Linked DNA regions of Homo sapiens: region 2 is linked to region 1. The links are contacts of gene promoters, found by promoter capture Hi-C in blood cells and fetal thymus (Javierre and others, 2016). All regions are on one chromosome and are shown on one strand. The core of a region is centred on a gene start or on the middle of the fragment in contact, and the rest is flanking DNA. Distances in the headings are between cores, read along the strand shown. Region 1 holds the start of RBM46 (RNA binding motif protein 46). Region 2 overlaps MAP9 (microtubule associated protein 9).

What was found. The method cuts DNA at HindIII sites, captures the fragments that hold promoters and counts their contacts. A CHiCAGO score of 5 or more calls a contact.
Region 2: a contact is called between a fragment that was not itself captured here and the fragment with the promoter of RBM46 in region 1, in 4 of 17 cell types (megakaryocytes, endothelial precursors, M1 macrophages and 1 more). The highest score is 5.8, in megakaryocytes.

The regions. Positions count from the first base shown.
Region 1 is chr4:154,779,211-154,782,801 of GRCh38, reverse strand. It overlaps RBM46 (RNA binding motif protein 46), which reads right to left and starts at 1,530. Exons shown (of 5, transcript NM_144979.5): 1 at 1,366-1,530. It overlaps LOC105377500 (a long non-coding RNA gene), which reads left to right and starts at 929. Exons shown (of 4, transcript NR_188451.1): 1 at 929-1,013. The HindIII fragment of the contact is 3,692 bases long and covers 431-3,591 here.
Region 2 is chr4:155,369,335-155,373,048 of GRCh38, reverse strand. The region is part of intron 4 of MAP9 (microtubule associated protein 9); the gene reads left to right. Among named protein-coding and RNA genes, the nearest start is that of MAP9, 5.8 kb to the left of the region's middle. The HindIII fragment of the contact is 1,698 bases long and covers 990-2,687 here.

The DNA of each region.
Region 1 (3,591 bases), core at 281-2,780:
AGAGAAGCCAAGACTTAAAAAGCTCGGCGGCGATGGCTCACGCCTGTAATCCCAGCACTTGGGGAGGCCGAAGCGGGTGGATCATGAGGTCCAGAGATCGAGACCATCCTGGCCAACATGGTGAAACCCTGTCTCTACTAATACAAAAATCAGCTGTGCGTGGTGGCGCGCGCCTGTAGTCCCAGCTACTCCCGAGAGTTTGAGGCAGGAGAATCGCTTGAACCCGGTAGGCGGAAGTTGCAGTCAGCCGAGATCCTGCCACTGCTCTCCCGCCTGGGAGACAGAGCGAGACTCCGTCTCAAAACAAAACAAAAAACAAAACAAAAAAACTCCTTATGATATTTCCTCTTTGATATTTGCCTATATTAGGATTACCACATAACATAAAGGTTACGGGGAATTTATCAAGAATGTAAAGACAGTTAAAGCTTAAAGAACTTAAATATTACCTAAGCTAAATTTACATAGGAGAAAACTGGTGCCCAAATAAATCAAGCAGCTTCGCAATATCTCAGAATATCAACGCCAGGATTAAATGCCGCTGGTTCTGTGGTTTTTCCAGCAGCTCCAAAGAAACATTTTTAAATTAGGGGTTTAAAAACTACCAGATGTTAGGAAACAAAGGCGGTGCCACGACGTGTGCTGCCGTCCGTGTGTCGGGGGAGAGGCGAGCTATCTTCCCTGTGCACCCGCGGCCTCCCACTGCCCACAGCCCAGCACACACGAGGTACTCGGGGAAGAAACAGGGAGACAAAGGCAAAGTAAAGTTCGAGGCTCAGTCCCGGCTAGAACTCCACGCAAACGACTAGGAGCCCGCTAAAGCTCACCCAGCCTGAATTCAATTCTGAAACCAGACTGCTGAATCTCACCCAGCCGTCGGGACGCCCCAGACGGCGTCCAAAGCCTCCAGGGGACGCGCGGACCCTACAACGGCCAGGCAGCGGCCCGGGCCTGCAGCGGTCGTTGGTCGTCGGCGTAAGCGTGTCAGGAAAATAACACGAAATGCAGCACAGGTGGGAAGCGGCCGGAAGGCAGCGGGGGAGAGCGGAAATAAGGCGGAGAGCGCAGGGCGCCGCGGGGCGGAAGAGGCCGCCAGACGCCCCAAAGAGACTGGCCGCTGGGCCCTCACCATGCAGCGCCTGGGTGACGGCGAGGGCGCCTTCTGGCCGGATGCTGCCGGGGCAGGAAGCAGCGTCTCGGACACTTGCCCTCCCACTGCTCGACGGGGCTGGGGAAGGACGAGGGTGAACCCCGCAGCCACCGCCGCCAGCCCCCACTGTGTATTCGGCGTGAGAGTGAGCCGGGCACTATCCAGCCGTTAGCAGTGGTCTGGTAGTGACCCCGTTTCCCCTTTCCCCTCCTCACCCCTTCGGGTCTTCAAATGTTGGTCCTAAATCCCGGGGCCCAACGACCAAAAACCGCCGCCACCGTTTAGGGGACCAGTCGGTCAGAGCGAGGGGGGGTCGTCGCAGGGGGAGGGTAGCCCACCGGGACCGCTCGCGCTGGTCCTCGTGTCTCCACTCGTTTCCCAGCGCGCAGCGCGCGCGGTGGCCTAAGCAGCCCCACGAGGAGTGGTGCCTCATCCAATCAGGGATTAGCTTCGGGGCGGGGCGAGGAGGAGAGAGTGGGGCTAAAGTTTAAATGAGGCTCTTGGGCTAGTCAAAGTGCTTGGAGTGACAGGCATTTCGAGCAATTGGGGTGAAGAGAGCGATTTTTAGGGTGTGGGTGGGCACGGAATAATAAATGAAGGTCCTAGGTGCATTGTTTAGGTGTTTGAAGACGAGGGCTGCAGTGTGAAATTCCGCACTTAAGGGAAAACATAGATGCATCGTAATGGTTCTTTTTCTTGTTTGATGTAGTTTTCTTGTAAACTGCTAGTTTGGCGCAAAACAACCACATATATCCGGTGGACCTTTGAAATTAAGGGCTAGGGGGAGGTGGGTTATAAAGCTAAAAGATGGATTTGCAAATAGGACTAGAAGTATAAAGTATAAGTGGTTTAAATGACAATGACTAAGAAAATGGGTTAGATGAGGAGAACTAGCGATAGGCTTGACGCTACCACTAATCAGCTTGCAGGGACATTTGGCAGAGGCGAACTGCCGAACTGGGTTCTATGCTCTTGTAAAACCAACTTTCACAGATAGGGTTGTTTGGCATTCGGTATGCATAACTTCAGTTTTGCTTCCTTTGAAGACAGCTCGAAATTAAATGCAGACAAGGAAAGAAAAAACCACCTTTAGGAACCAACTATTTATGTATAGATAATATTAGATTCATGGAATATTAGACAATAAAGAACCTAGCTCATGTTGATTCTCTAATTAACAAGGAACTTCATGCCCAGAATATTCACCGAGTAACACAGATCTCCTTATTCCCAACCTCAAGGTGATTTCTTCCACATTAACTCCTAATGTATTTTCTCCATATATTCAAGGAACTAATGAATGTCTACCAATTTAAATTTTGTTAAAGTATATTTTTAATTTTTAAATATACTACAACAGTGAGGAATTAGCAGGGACTTTGGAGCCAGACAGACCCTGTTTAAAGTGGGGATTGTGAGAATAAAATAATATATGATATTACCAAATATTGAGCCAGATGCCAGAAACAATCCTAAGGACTTTTCATATTTTCATTTAATTCTCACAGTAACTTTGGTAAAGTTACTAGCCCTACTTTGCAGACGGGGAAACAGATGCAGAAACCTTAAGTAGTTTGGGCAAAGTCATATAGCAAGTAAGTGGCTCCAGTTTGAAACCTACAGACATAATTGCTATACTATACTGTCTCAAAATACGTCCAGAAACAAGTAGAAAACTTGGCATAGTACTTGATGCACACTGGAAGCTCAACAAATATTTTTTGTAAGCCGTCTGCCCTTTAGTCAATGAATACAAGTGTCATTTTATATAAGATGTATGCATTCAAAATAAAGCAACTAGAAAACCTAGACTGATAGATCTAGTTGGCTTTGTTTGACATGTCACCAATTCTGTACCTCGGGAACTGTGATTGTTATATTGATTACTATTTTTTGCTGCTCTTTTATTTCTCCAGAAAAAGATTCTCCTCATTCTTCATTTTCATGTCGGTACCTTCTCAATTCCTAGTAATTAATTCTAAATACATGTGTTTAAGGTTAAATTATCTGAAATGAGGTTAGGCATATTAGTGGCAATTTAAAACAAGTAATTTCTAGGAATGGCTGTAAGATCCTTAAGGAGTCACTAGGTGGAGATGTTGTGAGGTACAAAGATTGTTCTTGGAAATAGCCTGGAAGGTTGTTGAACATTGCTGGTTTTCTTGTTTCCCTTTTTGTCTTTTTTCTCCCCAAGTATAAAGAAAACCAAATAGACAAGGGCTTCTCAATAGGCATTACAGTCAGACCATAGAACCTTGCCATAGATGAGACAGTGTTGTTTAAAGACCCTTCCCATACTTAACATTGTATGTCATTTTGGTTAGATTTTGTCTAAGTTTTTATTATCCTAAAGTTTATTAATAGGTATACTTTTCAAATGCTATAAAAACTATTGTCTGCATGTACAATTAAAGAAATGACCTTTAACTTTATTTCTCAAG
Region 2 (3,714 bases), core at 589-3,088, 590 kb before region 1:
ATATTTAAGAAAAAAAGACAGACTTAACTTCCATTTTACAGACCTGTTGTATTTTGTCTAACTTCAATTTTACAGACCTGTTGTATTTTGTCTAACTTCAATTTTACAGACCTGTTGTATTTTGTCTTGCATCTAGGCTGTTGCCTGATAGAAAGCCAAAGCACAAAGCCAAAGCACCTTTAGTCATCCATAGCATCCATAGCTGTGGATCTCCAGACACCTAGACCTGTGAGCTTCAGTTTTGTTTGTAGGTGTGGAACTGGAATGGAATGCTGTCTAATCCCTCTCACACTCCAAAGATTAGAGTTACAGCAATATTGAGACTAATCCTTCTAACAGTCTTTGCCATACCAACATTGTGCCAGAAAATTTTCTTGACATTTGTATATTTGAAGGATGAGTTATGTTATTGCTGCTGTTGTTTGTTGAAGCATCCAGGCACTCCTTAAGAGAATCTCCATTTGATCTCTGTATTGCCTATGAAAATCTACTAAGATTCAGTTTTCCAAAGGAAAGTTCCTGGTGTGATCTGGGATTACAGTTAGTTCTGCCCACAATTTTACTGAATTTTAAGCATAAAGGAACAAAGATAGAATGAAACGGAGACCAAGTCCTGTCACATACCCTGGGCCACCATTCATGAACTTGTATATGCAAGGTTAAGGATTTTTTGTTTTTCATTCTTTGTATTTTATAAAGGAATTATTAGTTGATGTTAACCTTCATAAAAATCTCCTTGCATATCATCAGTAAATACAGTGCTGGTAAATATTTCATACTTTGCATATTAGATACCAGTGGTAACGTCAGACAAAACTTTATTTCAGGCATGTATTGGGGAACTGCTCCTTTCTTCCTGACCCCACAATCTCATTAACTTTGAAATGAGCAAAGGATGTAAGCAGAGCAAAGAACACTAGAATAATATCCAGGACACTGGGGGAAAGGCCTCTGTATATTATATATGACTTCAGCAAATAAGTTAAGCTTCAGTATCCTCATGATGAGGAAGCTAAAAATAACCCTCTTTCTATTCCTGCAAAATTGTGAGAGTTTATTGAAGTGCATCTCATAAACTATAAAAAACTACAAAAATGCAAACAGATGCATAATGAAACAATTAACTTGTTAAAATGTACCTTCTAAGTATAGTGAGTGAAATCAATGCTGGAGAGAAGAGGAACATAATTGAACTTCGTTATTAAGAAAATGCGAGCATATATAGCAACTAAAAATTTGTCTGAGACAGGTGGATGTATATAATTAGAAGTTTATGGTAGATAATCAGGAAAGCAATAATCCACCTATTTCATACCTTAAAAAAAAAAAAAACCTGTGGTGGGTTACAATGAATAAGAAAATACTGTATTTTAACCACAAGGTGGCATCAGGATCCTAAATGCTCTACTTATATATGCAATGTTATATTCAGTACGTGTAATATAAAAATAATTACCTAAATAGGTAATTGTATACATTGATTACCAAAAAAAGCGCTTTTCTTAAAGTATAGGCATTTTTTTTTCTTTTTGGGAACTTGACAGTACTTCTGGAAGTGGAATTTTTGTAGAAAATATATTAAAGTTGTCATTCTCAGGTTCTTCAGGTTGAAAAGTAAAAATTGAGGCTAGTGTTCCTAAGATAATATCTGGCATATATAATAAGTATTTAAATGAATAAATTAATATATGAATGATTTATCTTTGAAAGAGGGAATATGGTTCATGAGTTTATCCTCTAAATTCTTTGACTTTTTTTTTTTCTGTACAGGTTTGGAACTCAATGTTTTTAATGTGGTGAGATATTGCTGAGTAGCAAGTAATGCTTTATGAAACTATTAGAGCTTGAAGGTTTTCTCTGTCCTTGCTTGTCTTTTGTAAAAAGTATAATAACCAGACTTTATAGTCACTACTGAAGTGACAGTTGCTCTATAAAGTGAAAGTATTTTTCACAGGATATGTTTTTATTTTAATACTAACATGACTGAAATCATGAACTTTGGAGTCAGGATGCTTCTCCTTTAATCTGAGATCTGCAGCCTGCTAGAGTTTGTGACTTTGGGCATGAGACCTCTTTGTTCTCATTTTATTCATCTTTAAAAACGGGATAATAGTTGCCTGCCTCTAGGAGTTTGAGGCAATTAAATGAGTTCACATATTTGAAGTGCTTAGAATAGTACTGGCATAAATTTAGCACTCTATAAATGTTCTGATTATTCATTTTATTATTTAGCGTTTGTTTATAAACATGCTCAGCAGGTATAAAGTATCAGTCATGCGGGATGCGTAAGTTCTAGAGATCTGCTGTACATTGTGCCTATAGTTAACAGTACTGTCTTTTGCACTGAATGTATTAAGAAGGTAGATCTCATGTTTGTTCTTACCACAATAATAAAAAAAATTGACTCAACACCTTCTTTCAGGCATTATATAATATTCTGCTTAAACTGAGGCTCAAAAGACATGCAAGCATTTGTCAGGAGGAGAAGCAGGAAGTGGATATTCTAGGCAGGGGGATCAGCTTAGGTAAAGGTATGGTAGCAGGAGGGATTGGAGGGATTGTGGTATGTGTGCATGACAACTGTTAGCCCAGCATTTCAGAAACACAGATGACAAAATGGCTGTAGATAAGGCAGTGAAGGACAAAACCATAAAATCCGTTTTATGTTGTTTAAAGGCAGTTAAGCTTTTATTCTGTAGGATTGGATCATGGGGAGCCATTGAATAATTTTGTAGAAAGGAGTGATGTGATCTGATTTGGATTTTGTAAATATCATGGAAGCAGTGATCTAGGAAAGAGTGGATAAGGACCCGACAGCAGGGATGTAGAAAGTGGAATAAATGAGATATTTGGCAATTAGAATTGATAGGATATATTGATACTCTGGATTTAGGGGATAATAGAGGGAGGAATCTAGAGCCCTTGGATTTGGGGTTGAACATTTGGCTGGAGTTTAGGATGTAGCTAAAATTGTCAGCTACTTATAATAATACCAATTTGGTATGGTTGTGGAATCTTCTGGCAGAATCCATAAGCCCATTTTTAGGTAAATGGGAGGAAGATGTTAATTAGACCAATTTTGAAGTTGAGAAAAATGCATTTGTAGAACAATAGAAACATAAATATGTATAGCAGGTAAAATGCAGGCAAAAAATATATACATGGAAAGTCTTCCCATTGTTTCGAATACTGGATGCAAATCAGCATTTGATTCTTGATTTAAACTTAGAAGTAATGGAAAGAGTGAAATTTTAATAAATGCTAAAGAAGTTTTATGGACTCAGAACAATTAACTCATAAAAGATTCCTTCCTCTAATGAGAGTTAGCACTCCTATCCCTTGAGTGCCAACATCATCATCTTTGTCCTTATAATAGCACTTATAATCTTAGTAATCTAGTCTTGTAATTTTGTTTAGAAAAATCAACCTGTAAAGTACCTGGACAGGTCCATTGCCGCTTTGTTGATTATGAGGTTTAGTAACGTGTACAGGGCTTGGTACTCAAAGGCTTGATGGATGAGCCTCCTCATTTTATAGTGGTAGAAACTGGGGCAAGATTTTGTTTTGTTTTTTTATTTTTAACATTTTTTTTTTAATATTATAAGAGTTCACAATGTTGAAGAGTTAACTTCTTGTGACTGGTTACTTTCAGGATGACAACTGTTTCTTTACTTTGTTTTTTTTTTGTTGTTGTTGTTGTTTGGTTTTTTTTTT